3 separate regions of the Homo sapiens genome follow, and all the other regions are linked to region 1. The links are contacts of gene promoters, found by promoter capture Hi-C in human tissues and cell types (Jung and others, 2019). All regions are on one chromosome and are shown on one strand. The core of a region is centred on a gene start or on the middle of the fragment in contact, and the rest is flanking DNA. Distances in the headings are between cores, read along the strand shown. Region 1 holds the start of SCUBE1 (signal peptide, CUB domain and EGF like domain containing 1). Region 2 overlaps EFCAB6 (EF-hand calcium binding domain 6). Region 3 overlaps EFCAB6 (EF-hand calcium binding domain 6).

Evidence for each region. The method cuts DNA at HindIII sites, captures the fragments that hold promoters and counts their contacts. A contact is called where the count stands out against the background at its distance.
Region 2: a fragment that was not itself captured here is called in contact with the fragment with the promoter of SCUBE1 in region 1 in 2 of the 25 tissues and cell types used here (H1 embryonic stem cells and dorsolateral prefrontal cortex).
Region 3: a contact is called between a fragment that was not itself captured here and the fragment with the promoter of SCUBE1 in region 1, in 1 of the 25 tissues and cell types used here (dorsolateral prefrontal cortex).

What each region holds. Positions count from the first base shown.
Region 1 is chr22:43,340,731-43,345,020 of GRCh38, reverse strand. SCUBE1 (signal peptide, CUB domain and EGF like domain containing 1) reads left to right here and starts at 1,649. Exons shown (of 22, transcript NM_173050.5): 1 at 1,649-1,847. The coding sequence starts at 1,760. The HindIII fragment of the contact is 4,801 bases long and covers 1-3,623 here.
Region 2 is chr22:43,684,385-43,688,685 of GRCh38, reverse strand. It overlaps EFCAB6 (EF-hand calcium binding domain 6), which reads left to right. Exons shown (of 32, transcript NM_022785.4): 11 at 1,105-1,215. Among named protein-coding and RNA genes, the nearest start is that of EFCAB6, 130 kb to the left of the region's middle. The HindIII fragment of the contact is 6,599 bases long and covers 1-4,301 here.
Region 3 is chr22:43,782,335-43,787,131 of GRCh38, reverse strand. The region is part of intron 2 of EFCAB6 (EF-hand calcium binding domain 6); the gene reads left to right. Among named protein-coding and RNA genes, the nearest start is that of EFCAB6, 28 kb to the left of the region's middle. The HindIII fragment of the contact is 4,110 bases long and covers 332-4,441 here.

The DNA of each region.
Region 1 (4,290 bases), core at 400-2,899:
ACAAGATAATATGTGGTTCTGAGGGAACTCCCCACCCCCTGCAGAAACTCAAAGCTACACAATTGACGGGGACAAAATAAAGCCTGTCAACAGCATCTCCCAAATTAAACCAGCAGCCAGGAGCAGCCGTGCAGACCGAAATGTCTGGAGCAATGGGGTGGGGGCTCAGTGGAGACAACAGGCAGCGCTTCCTTCTTCTTTGGGCATCTCTGGACCCCCCACACCCCCGATCCCCATGTAGGGGACCCCTTGCCTCAGCCACCAGGCCCGTGCCACAAGCTGATGTGAAGTCAGATGGGGTGTGAGAGCTGGCTGGACACAGATTTAACCTTCCAGGGCTGAGGAGCTCGTCTACGGTAGGTTGGATGAGGGCGTGAAGAAGCATGTGTGAGCGTGTGTGTGCTGGAGGGTGTGAGGGTGTGAGGCTGTGTCTGAGTGATTGCACGTGAGAGCATGTGTCTGCATGTGTGACTGTGTGTGTGTGTGTGTGTGTGTGTGTGTGTGTGTGTGTGCGTGTGTGTGTTGGGGGCAGGAAAGGGAGCTGGTGTGGAGGGGCTCAAACTGGTGCAGGCAGAGTGGACAAAAAGAGAAAAGAGTTGTCTTTGAGTTGGGCCTGGAGAGCAGGAGAAGAAAAAAGGAGCTCTTATTGGTGGTTGTCAAGGAGATGGGCCTTGGGGTTTGCTGAACTTTCGTCCCTTAAAGCGTCCTGCCTGGAACTGAGAGGGGCCATTTATTTCCAGCCGCCCGTCCCTCCCAGGCCCGGTGGGACCAGACCCGAAGCCAACCCTCGCCAGGCGTCAGGTGTAGACCCCAGGCCAGGCCAGAGCAGTTCCTGGGTCTTCGGACCGGGATGCCCGCCCTGCCCCTCCTCCTGGCCCCGCCCGGTCTGTCACAGGGGGAGGCCTCGGCCTCGCATTCCGGGCAGCGAACTTCGCCGGCCGAGGTTAGCCCCGTGCGGGGGCCTCCCGCGGGACCGACCGCCAAGCGGCATTGTCCGTCCCGGGCGCCCGCCCGGTTCCAGACGCAGGTCCTGCGGCCGCCCCGTGACAAGCACACTGACGGGCCACTGTCCTTTGACGAGTGCTAAAAAGTTCGTTTGTTTTGAACGTCAATTTTCAAGTGATCTTCACGAGGTTTCCCCTCCCGGTTCCTTCGCTGCTGCCTCGCCCGCACTCGGTCCCCAGTAGGTGCTCAAGAAACGTCCAGCAAACGGCAGCGCAGGCGAGTCTGCTCTGCGCGCTGGCGCGTTTCACTGCCCACGGATGGCGGGCGACCTCACGGGATCCCCGGTTCGCAGGATCCCCGCCCCCGAGGCTGCCTCTGGGCCGGGAGGGGTTACCCCAGAGGGGCGTCCACTCTCGACGGCGGGGGCCGGGGCGCCGCGGGCAGGGGAGGGCGCAGCCTCCAAGCAGCCCCAGCCTGGCCTAGACCCCGCGCCTAGCGAGCCGGCCGGCCAGGCCCACACCCCCCACCTGCCGCCCGCCCCAGGGGAAGGGTCCCCCCGACGACGCCCGAGCCCCCCTCTTCCTCGGAGGGCCGGAGGCCGGCGCCCATTGGCCGGCCCTGGGCGACGCCCCGCCCCTCCGACGCCACGGGCCAATGAGCGCGCGCTGTCAGCTCATCAGCCGGGCTGGCTGGGCGGCTCGGGAGCCCGAGCGGTGGCGGAGCGGCGAGCAGCGAGCAGCGCCTGCGGGAGCGGCCGGTCGGTCGGGTCCCCGCGCCCCGCACGCCCGCACGCCCAGCGGGGCCCGCATTGAGCATGGGCGCGGCGGCCGTGCGCTGGCACTTGTGCGTGCTGCTGGCCCTGGGCACACGCGGGCGGCTGGCCGGGGGCAGCGGGCTCCCAGGTAAGCCCCCGACCGAGGTGGGGGGCGGCGGGCGCGGGGGGCTCGGGCGGCCGAGGCGCGGTCCCGGAGGGCTTCTTCCCCGCGGATCCCGAGCTCGCCCCGCGCGGCCCCGCGCCCCCTGCCTCTTTGCAAAGTAACTTCTAGGGCCGGCCCGGGGCGCCCCCTCCCCGCAGCCCGGGCGGCCGGGGCTCCTGAGTCCGGCGGGGCCGCACCAGGGGTGGGTGGGCCGGGGCCCCGGGAGGGGAAGCGCGAGCGCGGGAGCGAGGAAGAAAGGCGGCGGTTCCCGGGGACCCCGCGTGCGGACCTGGGCGGGGCGGGACCCCGAGCGCAGAGGGGCGCTCCTCCTGGGAGAGGGGGCGCGGGGCGGGGCGGGCGGAGGGGGACACGCCAGGAGGTGGACGGGGAAAGGGACGGACCGAGAGACCGGGACGGGGCGGGAGGTGCGGGACAGACGGACAGAAGAGCCGGCGCCGAGGGAGCAGACAAAAGGAAGCCCGGAGAAAAGACAGATGCGGAAGGGTAGAGAGGAGGCCCGCACCGCCCGGGGAAGGAGGAGGAGGCCGGTGGATCAGGGGGAATCAAGAGGGATGGTCCCACCGATGATAAGGGAGAGAGAGAGGAGGAGACGGGGGACAGATGGACGCCGCAGAAAAACGGGGTTGGGGGGGGCGGTGAGAGGGAGACCGGGAAAGAGAGAGGGACAGAGATACCTGGAAAGCCGCAGACGAGGGACCGGGACCGTCTGACAGGACGGGGAGGAAAGACAGAGGGAAGGAAGGCAGAGGATCCGGAGGACAGACACAGGGAGGAGAGTCCGGACGCGGGACGTCGGTGGAGCAGACCCAGGAAGGGGAGGGGGAGACCCGGAGGCCACAGGCCCAGGCCCGTGGGTTTCACGGGGACCCCCCCACCCTCCCACCCGGTCCCCTCCTGCTCTCTGTCTTCAGGGGCTTCCCGAAAAGCTGGAGTCACATTCTCCCCTCCTCGTCATCAGAGGCGCTTCCTCCGGTGCTCTGCTTGGAGGGGGAGGCAGGGGGAGGGTCCTGCACGTCCTTCCCGGCTTCCTGAGGTCTGGTATGGGTGGCGTAGGGTCTATTCCTGGTGGTCCCGCGTGCCCCGAGTGAGGATGCTGGGCCTGTGAGACTCTTCCACAGCAACACCCCTCCTGGAAGCCCAGCCCTGCTGCCCCATCATCCCCCTTGTGTCTGTGGGTGTCTCTCCCAAGCTTTGGGGTCCCTCACCTCTGAGTGACTGTTCCTGGGCGTGCCTATCCCCACCTGTGTCCCTCCTCGTGTCTCTCTGTATCTGACTCTGTCTCCTCCACGACCCTCTCCGTGGAAGCCCTGTGACTGTGAAACCCCAGCAGCATGTCCCCAGCATAAGCAAACCAGAGTCAAAGGGAGCAGCCTGTGCTAGGAGGGCTGGGTCGCCCTGCAGGGGAGTCTCCAGCCCAGACAGGAGCGGGAGCATGGCAGAGAACCGATGGGGACAAGTGGCTTCTCCCTCTCTCTCCTCAAACTCCCATGTCCTCTCCCCACACTCCACACCAAGGACACCCAAGTGTTTAAAGGTGTGTTGGGAGATAGCTCCACCCACCCCTCATCAACATCCATCCATTTCCATTCCAGTGAAGACACCTGCCTAGGTGGGAGATTAGGGGTGAGGGCACAAGGGGCTCCCACCCCTCATTCCTACATACTGGCCCCTGGGAAGTGGGAAGAGCCATATCTGTGGCCCACTGCCCCTGCTGGTCCTGTCTCATAAGTGACCCCAGTCCTCCCAAACAGAAGCCTGGAGATGGGCCCTCTCTGGCCTCTGGGTCCCTGCCTTAGAGGCAGTGCCAGTCCTGCACAGTGTCCCTCTGTTGCCACTTCCCCAGAAGGCCCTCATGGATGTTCCTGCTGGCCCAGCCATCCAGTTGCCGGCTGGGCCCCCTCCAGTTCCTGCCTCCTTGTCCCCTTTCCACTCTTCCCCTGGGCAGCTGTCTAGGACAGGCCGCCCACCTGAGCAGATGGGTAGCCCCCCCCGGAAAGCAATGCCACCTGCCGTGTGTGTGCGCACACGTGCATGCATGTGTGTGTGTGTGTGTGTGCAGGGGGGTCATGCTGTTGTGTTTCTTGTTGATGCCTCTCTTCCTTCAGGGGTGGGCAGGAGACTTAGGGGCTAGGGCAAAGAAGGAGAAGCCCTGGGGGGCATGGATCTCATAGGCCCCACTGGCAGATTTCGAACCCAGATATTATCCAGGGGAGAAATTTAGAGTGGACACTCTTGGGGACCCAGCAATCTAAGGTGAGACCAGAGGCATGAAGAGATGGGGACATTCCAAGCTTACCCCTGGGGCACTGCCCTCATGGCAGCTGCTGAGAGTTCCTTGCACTGCTGCACTCCTGGGTCCTTCTGTCTGTCTGTCATGTCTACATTTCATGCATTGCTAGCTAGAAGT
Region 2 (4,301 bases), core at 769-3,268, 340 kb before region 1:
ACCTATTAGCTCTAATCCTTATCACAACCCTCCTAGGAGGTGGTATTATTCTCATGTTACAGATGAGAGGAATACAGAATCAGCATAGTGAGCAGCGAGTCTGAGGTCACATCAGTAGGAAGTGCAGGAGCAGGTACTCTGGTCTTTCTGAAACCCATGCTCACATCAGGTTGCTCCCACAGGAATCTTATAACTCTGAAATTATTGGACTCTGAGTCATGGGACCATATTCACTTTGGAAATGTGTTTTTTGAACAATTTTCCAATTATTCTTGCTAAGACTTTAAATCTATACTAACTTTCTATTGCTGCCATAACAAAGTACACGAGCCTAGTGGCTTATAACAACACATGTATTATCTTCATGTTTGGTAGGTTAGAAGCCCAACATGGGTCCACTGGGCTAGAATCAAGGAATCAGCAGGGCTTTTTTCCTTCTGGGGAATCTGGGGGCAAATTCATTTGCTTTTTCTAGAGGCTTCTAGAGGCCACCTGCATTTGTTGGTTCACAGCCCCTTCCTCTGTCTTTCAAAGCCACCAGCGTCACACTTCTGCCCTTCTGTCCTCATGTCTTTTGATGGCTGCAGCTAGGAAAAGCTCTCCAATTTTAAGAATGTATGGGATTAGAGTGGGCCCACTTGGATAAACCAGGAGAGTTGCTCCATCTCCAGATCCGCCCTCCACCACATCTACCATGTTTCTTTGCTGGGGCAAGAACGTAGTCACAGAGGCTCAGGATTAGAGGGTGGACCCCATGGGGGCCATTGTCCTCCCTGCCACAACATAGAGGCTCTTCACATGATGAATTTGAAAGAATTATTTTATGGACATTATTATTTTAATCAAATCCCTTAGATTCTTCTTTCAGTGTATGCCACCATTAACAATATAGAGGCATGCAGATCTAATATCAGTTTGATTTTTCCTTGCTTTAAAAAATCAATTTGTAGTACTATTTTACTAAGTGATTTTGTTTATATTAGATTTGAAACTTCATATAAATGCATTGCTGCCATTTTCAATTCAACATTAAGTACCTAATCCATGCAGTGTTATAGAAAAAATGTTTAAAGTAATGTTTTTTGTTGTTACTTTTAAATCCAGATTTGGACTTAAAGCCACCACTAAAATCAATTGGAAGCAATTTCTAACATCATTTCATGAGCCTCAGGGGTTGCAAGTTAGCAGTAAAGGTCCCCTGACAAAAAGAAATAGGTATGTAAAAAAAAAAAAAAAAACAAATTTTAGTTACACATATCATAATATGTAAAATATCAGAGAATATCTGTGCTACTTTTTCTGCATTTATTGAATGATCGATTAGTCTCCATTGAATAATTGCCAACTTTTATATAGTGATTTACTGCTTACAAATTTTTCTTATTGAAAACTGCCTTAAACTATAAGGTTGGTATAATTGTTATGTCAATTTCTAGATGAGAAACATAAGATGATACAATCTGAACTCCATCACCTGCTCAGAGTGTGGTGGAGACAGCTATGGACCACAAAGGCTCCAGGCACACAGGCCGCCACGGCAAGCACTGCTCCCTAGCTCTAAGCATATCCTTGTAACATTGTAGGTAAACGTGTATTTGTTAGGTGTTACATGGAAAGGAACAATATATGTTGATTTGTTTTCCAGCCACTGAGTGGCCCAGATATCATGGGTCATGGAGATTATTTGTCTATCATTATTTCTGTTTTCGTTTTAATATCTATTATAACCTCAGATTTGCAATACCAAATATCTTGTGATGGGGCCCCAAAATGTTTTTTAAAAAATTTAATAATATGAAATTTTAGAATTTAGCTTTCTGCTCTGAGAAGTATTTTATGTTGATGCGTATCCTGTATTCATTGCCCTCTATGAATCTTAAAGAAAAAAACAGGCTTTATAATCTTGGCACGTTCATTGAAAGTGCTGTGCTCTACTGTAAAGTAAAATATACCATGGAGTTAATTCCCATTTTGTGGGTCCTGTCCCTGTCTCGGGGATTTGTGAATATTTAATGAACTGCGCCTGTTAACAGCCTTGCAGGTAATCAGAGCGCTCCCTCTCTGCTCCAGAGCTGCAACCTCTGAGTTCATTCGTTATGTGAAGTTACTTCTGTTTCTTTTTAATTTTCTTGTCCAATAGCACGTTGTCTAGAGAGGCTGTCAGAATTAAACTTAAAGTTTTATTTACTTTAAAACAGTGGTTCTTAAATGGGGACAATTTTTCCTCCCAGGAGATATCTGGCAATGTCACAGACATTTTTGGTTGTCACACTGAGGGTGGGGAAGCTACTGATGGGAGCTGATCATAACCCCAAAAGACACAAATGCCATCATCCTTAAGGTTGAAACCTCAGAAGATCAAAATCATGAAAATATAATTCTGAAAAAAAAAATTAAAAATTATTTAGGCTGGCACGGTGACTCACGCCTATAATCCCAGCACGTTGGGAGGCTGAGGTGGGTGGATCACCTGAGGTCAGGAGTTCGAGACCAGCCTGACCAACATGGAGAAACCCCATCTCTACTAAAATACAAAATTAGCCAGGCGTGGTGGCGCAAGCCTGTAATCCCAGCTACTCGGGAGGCTGAGGCAGGAGAATTGCTTGAACCCAGGATGCAGAGGTTTGCAGTGAGCCGAGATCTCACCATTGCATTCCAGCCTGGGCAACAAGAGGAAAACTTCATCTCAAAAAAAAAAAATTGTTTTAAAAATATTTATTTACATTGTAAAAGGGGATTTATTTGAGAAACATAAAAACACAATAGAACACTTCAGAGGCCACTTTACACAAAAAATAGGCAAAAATGACACATATTTTTCAAGCATAAACACTTAGATATACTAGTGACCATCACATAGGTGTGACAGATATGAGCAGATGAACCATATTCCTAAAGAAATAGGTCAAAAAGTGAAACATGTAAATGCATATCCCTATGGTGGGTAATCGCATGCACCCAGTTTCATAACTGCAGTCATTCAGAATACCGTGACAGATAACCTAAGTCTTTTGCAAGATCAATCAAAATCCGCGATGGGTCACCACTGCCTGTACAGTTGCCCAAAGAGCCAAGATCTTGAGAAATTTTATCTTTTACAAATGCAGTGAACAAAAATGACGTCTCTTCATATACTGAGCGAGTTTCAGTGTTTGTACACAACACACACAATGCTCACACACTAAGGCAACGTTGTGATAATGCATTTTTGTGGAGTCAAATTTCCGATGTCCAAGGCAGCGGCAGAAAATGTCCCAGCTCCGAGGGAGAGCTGTGTTCTCTCTGGGCTCCCAGCTGATTGGATGGTGCTCGCCAACACTGAGGGCAAATCTTCCCCCCGCACCCTTCCTGCCCCCACAGACCCACACACTAATCTCCAGAAACGCCCTCGCAGGCACGCCCAACACAGTGCTTTACCAGGTTTCTAGGTGTGCCTTCATCCAGTCAAGTTGACACCTGAAATTAAGTCCACAAATCTGCTCTCGGCAACTTGGTACCCAGAGGCATCTCCTTAAACCAAACTTAATTTCCAAATAACGACAATAGCAAGGTTGTAGTTCCACCTAACATGATGCAACTATGCTGTGTACAACTGAAAACACACAAATCCCTTGCCTAGAATTTGGCTTTGGGGTTTTAATCTTTCGAGATTGTGCTTTTTGCGATTTTAGGCATTAGGGGCTTTAGAATTTAGAGATTTTGATCTTTTGGGAGTTCAACATTTGGGATTATGGCATTTGGGATTGCATCTTTCAGGATTAAGATCCAAACCTGCACTGATCTAGTGGGCGGAGGCCAGGGATGCTGCTCAACACTCTGCAGTGAGTCCCCACAGCAAAGAGCTCTCCAGCCCCTAGGTCAGGGGTACCCGGTGGATAAAATCTGCTGTAAAAAGCATCTCTTCATGCCAGTGCTGGCCGTCTATAGAAAAAGAAGGTTCTAACAAGTCATGTGAGGAGCTTAGACTCAGGAAGCCAGCATATGTTTCTGAAAAGTGGTGGTAGGCGTAGGCTTATTGTTTCTGCACAAACGGAAGAAGCTAAGATGGCTGTATAGACGCAGCAACAAAAACTCCCAAACAAATCTTAGAATGGTTCCGCAGGTAAACTGACTGTCATTCATTGTTTCATGGGAAAGGTAGGATGGTCTAGTAGAACATCAGAAAAGAGAAGCACCCAATGGTATATTGTGATGAGATTCTGACAGTCTCCCTTTCTGAGCCAAGTCCACATTGAACTTGGTTTTGGTCTCCAGAGGGGGTAGTCCTGGCCTTCAGGAGCACACATGTACACTGACGGGCC
Region 3 (4,797 bases), core at 1,137-3,636, 440 kb before region 1:
CTTTTGGTCATTCACCATTAAATATGACATTACCTGTGAGTGTTTTTTGGATGTCCTTTATTAAGTCAAGGAAGTTCCCTTCCATTCCTAATTTGTTGAATGTTTATTTTTTGAATCATTAAAGGATGTAGGATTTTATGAAATGCTTTTTCTGCACTTAGTGAGATTATTATGTGTTTTTTTTCCTTGATTAATAATATGGTTTATCACATTAATTGATTTTTGTTTGGTCAACCTCTCTTGCATTCCTAGCATAAATTTTGCTTGACTGTGCTGTCTGATTTTTAAAAATATGTTGCTGCATTCAGTTTGCTGGATTCTATTTTTGAGAATTTTCCCTATACTCATAAGGAATATTGGTTTTTAGCTTTTTTTCTTTTCTTTCTTTTTTTAAATTTTATTTTATTTATTTATTTTTTTTATGGAGTCTCGCTCTATCGCCCAGGCTGGAGTGCAGTGGCGCGATCTTGGCTCAGTGCAAACTCTGCCTCCTGGGTTCATGCTGCCTCAGCCACCCGAGTAGCTGGGACTACAGGTGCCCGCCACCATGCCCTGCTAATTTTTTTGTATTTTTAGTAGAGACGGGGTTTCACCATGTTAGCCAGGATGGTCTTGATCTCCTGACCTCGTGATCTGCCTGCCTTGGCCTCCCAAAGTGCTGGGATTACAGGCGTGAGCCACTGTGCCCGGCCACTTTCTTTTTTTCTAATGTCTTTTCTGATTTGGTATCAGGGTAATACTGGCGTCATAGGATGTGTTGAGAAATGTTTTTTCTTCTATTTTTCATAAGAATTTGTGAAGCGTTAGGTGAATTGATCTCAGCACACTTTAACATCCACCTCCCAAGTTCAAGCGATTCTTCTGCCTCAGCCTCCCGGGTAGCTGGGATAACAAGCATGCGCCACCATGCCTGGCTAATTTTTGTATTTTTAGTAGAAACGGGGTTTCGCCACGTTGGCTAGGCTGGTCTCAAACTCTTGACGTCAGGTGATCCACACACCTTGGCCTCCCAAAGTGCTGGGATTACAGGTGTGAGCCACCATGCCCAGCCTTGAATTTTTCTTTAAATGTTTGGTAGAATTTACTAGTGAACTCATCTGGTCCTGGTTCTGGACTTCTTTTGCAGGAAGTTTTTTGGTTATTAATTCAATCTTTTTGTCATAATTCTATCTAGATTTCTGTTTTTTCTTTAGTCAGTTTTAGTATCTTACATCTTCCTAAGAATATTTCCATTATATCTAGGTTACCTAATTTGTTAGCATACAGTTGTGTATAGTATTCCCTTATAATCATTTTTATTTCTGTAAGGTTAGTGGTAATGTCTCCTTTCATCACTGATTTTAATAATTTGAGTGTTTTCTCATTGTTTTTGGCTGGTCTAGCTAAAAATTTGTCAATTTTGATAATCTTTTGAAGTAACTTTGATTAGTTTTGTCTATTTTTCTATTCTTGATTTCATTTATTTCTGCTCCAATCTTTATTGTTTTCTTCATTCTACTAACTTTGGCTTTAGTTTACTCTTATTTTTCTAGTTTCTTAAGGAATAAACAGGTTAGTAATTTGAGATTTTCTTCTTTTTAAAATATAGGCATTAACATCTACAAATTTTCATCTAAGCACTGTTTTAGCTGCATCCTGTAAGTTTTTATATGTTGTGCCTTCATTTTCATCCATCTAAAACTATTTGGTAATTTCTCTTTTGATTTTTTTTTTGACTCATTGGTTATTTAGGAGTGTGTTGTTTAATTTCCACGTATTTGTGAATTATTCAATTTCTGTTTTCATTCTGTATGGTTGGAGATTATACTCTGATAATTTCAATCCTTTTAAATGTATTGAGGCTTGTTTTATGGTCCAAGATATGGTTTATACTGGAGAATGATCCATGTGTGCTGAGAAGAATGATATTCTACTATTGTTGGTTGGATGTGTTCTTTAGTTGTCTGTGAGGTCTAGTTGGTTTGTGGTGGTGTTCAGATCTTCTATGTCTCTGTTGATCTTCTGTCTAGTTATTCTACCCATTATTAAATGTGGATATTGAGGTTTCTAACTATAATTGTTGAAGTATCTATTTTCCAATTTAGTTAGTTTTTGCTTCACGTATATTGGGGCTCTTGTTAGGTGCATATATGTTTATTTTTCCTTCACTTGCCCTTTCTCAAATGCTCTTCCTTTTTTTAATATAGATCTGAGTTTCTGACATATATCTTTCTTTCATTTTCTTTTGTTTCTTTCTTTTTAAAAAAAATTTATTTAGAGACAGGGTCTCAGTCTGTCACCCAGTCTAGAGTACAGTGACATGATCATAGCTCACTGTAACCTCAAATGCCAGGGCTCAGTGATTCTACCATGTGAGCCTCCCAAGTAGCTAGGACTACAGGTGCATGCCACCATGCCTGGCATATATATATATGTGTGTGTGTGTGTGTGTGTGTGTGTGTGTGTGTGTGTGTGTATATATGTATATGTATATATACACATATATATGTGTACATATACATATATATGTGTATATATACACATATATATGTGTATATATACATATATATGTGTATATGTACACATATATATGTGTATATATACATATACACACACACACACACACACACACACACACACATATATATATTTTTTTTTTTTTTTGGTAGAGACAGGGCCTTGCTCTGTTGCCCAGGGTGGTCTTGATCTCCTGGCCTCAAGCAGTTCTCCTGCCTCAGCCTCTCAAAGCACTGAGATTGCAGGCATGAGCCACTGCACCTTGCCTTGCCTTTCTGAAGAATTCCTTTTAACATTTCTTGGAAGTAAGTCTGCTGGCAACACATTCTCTCAATTTTTGTTTGCTCAGGGAAGTATTTCTCATCCACATCCACTTTTGAAGAGTAATTTCATTGAGTTTGGAATTCTAGGTTGGTGGGGTTTTTATTTCAACACGTTAAATATTTCACTCTACTCTTTTCTTTCTTGCATAGTTTCTGAAAATAAGTATGGACCACACTTCCTTGTTTCTTTGCACATCTCATAAATTTTTGTTGAAAACTGGACATTTTATTTATTTATTTATTTTGAGACAGAGTTTTCTCTGTTGCCCAGGCTGGAGTGCAGTGGCGTAATCACGGCTCACTGTAGCCTCAACCTCTCAGGTTCAACTGCTCTTCCCATCTCAGCCTCCTGGTGGCTGAGACCATGGGTGCATGCCACCATGCCTGGTCAATCTTCTTTATTTTTATTTTTTTTGTAGAGACAGAGTCTCAGTATGTTGCCCAGTCTGGTCTTGAACTTCTGGGCTCAAGTCTTGAACTTCCTGCCTCAGCCTCCCAAAATGCTGGGATTACAGAGATGAGACATCATGCTAGGCCCATGACATTTTAAATAATATAATGTAGTAGTTGTGGAAATCATATTCTCATCCCTTTCCATGTTTTGTTGTTGTTAACTGCTTGTTGTTCATTTGTTTATAGAGTTTTCTAAAATTTATAAAGTCTGTATTCTTTGTTATATATGGCCACTAGAGTCTGATTGGTTAGCTTAGTGGTCAGCTCATGGTTGGATAGAAATTTCCGTAAATGCCTGGGAACAGTATCTCCCAATTTTTGCTGAGGGGCTTTTTGTATTGGAGCATTCCTTCAACACTTAGCTAGGCAGTTTATAACTCTGTCTTAGCCTTCATTTCCTGCTTGTGCAGAGCTTGAAGGTCAGTTGGAGGTGAGAGGTTAGGGCCTTCTCAGGTCTTTCCTGAGCACACACCTCTCCCTGGGAATGGTTCTAGCTCTGTGTACTGAGTGACTTCCTAGATTCCCAAGAATATGTGGGCGCTTTTTCAAGTCCCTATCGACATCTCATTCCCCAGCTTTTCCCTTGAAGCTTTTTGGTTGCCTATTATTTGCCCCGTTATCCACCTATTCAGGTAGCCATGATTTTAAACAACAATTGCCTCTGATTTCTTCTAACAAATGCCTCTTCATGATAGGCTGTGTTCACTGAGTGAACTCTGAGTTCAAATAAAGACAGCCTTGGGAGTAGGATCTTTCAGGGAAACATCAGGTCAAATAATGATAAGTTCCGGGTAAGGAGGCTTTGACAGAGCTCCAGCCCTGTTCTGTCCACTCCAGTGACTGTCAGCCTGCTGGGTTTTCCCTGTGATTGCAGGCTGATGGTTTTCAAGGCTACATCCAAGCTGTTGGGGCAGGGGGAGGCAGGTGAGGGAGAATGGGAATGAGGCAAGTTAAAATGCCACAAGGCATGTTCTTCATATTGAGATTCAGCCATTTTGGGGGAATAAATGCTCCCCAGATTGCTGTAAGCCTTTGGTTAATTTCCAGAGTTCTGAAAAAAAATTGATTTCAACAATTTTTCCCAGTGTCCTCATTGATTTAATGAAGGAGAGGATTTTCGGAGGTCCTTACTCCACCAGTTTCGCTCCTGTCATCCCAGCTTTGCCTCTGACTGCATGTTGAATTTATACTGAGGCACTTCAAAAAAGCTCAGAGAATCCAAACTTTCTTCCCCTTACTGCCTACCAAAGAAATGAGTCACTGATAGTCAAGATGTAGGTGGATTTTTCTGTCCAAAAGTCTCTTTATTTTGCCGTTTTTGAAGTTTATTGGATATGCTGAAAACAAGGAGTCCAAAATGATGATTTTTGTGTTCACTTTAAGAATAGTCTGAAACATCAGCAAAGCAGATTATGACTAGCATCATTTTTACACTCTGCAGCTGTCCCTTCAGAAAAGGAATAGATAGGAAATTGGCCACATTTGGAATGTATGCTCTTTAAGGTAACGTAATCTGTTTTCTTTT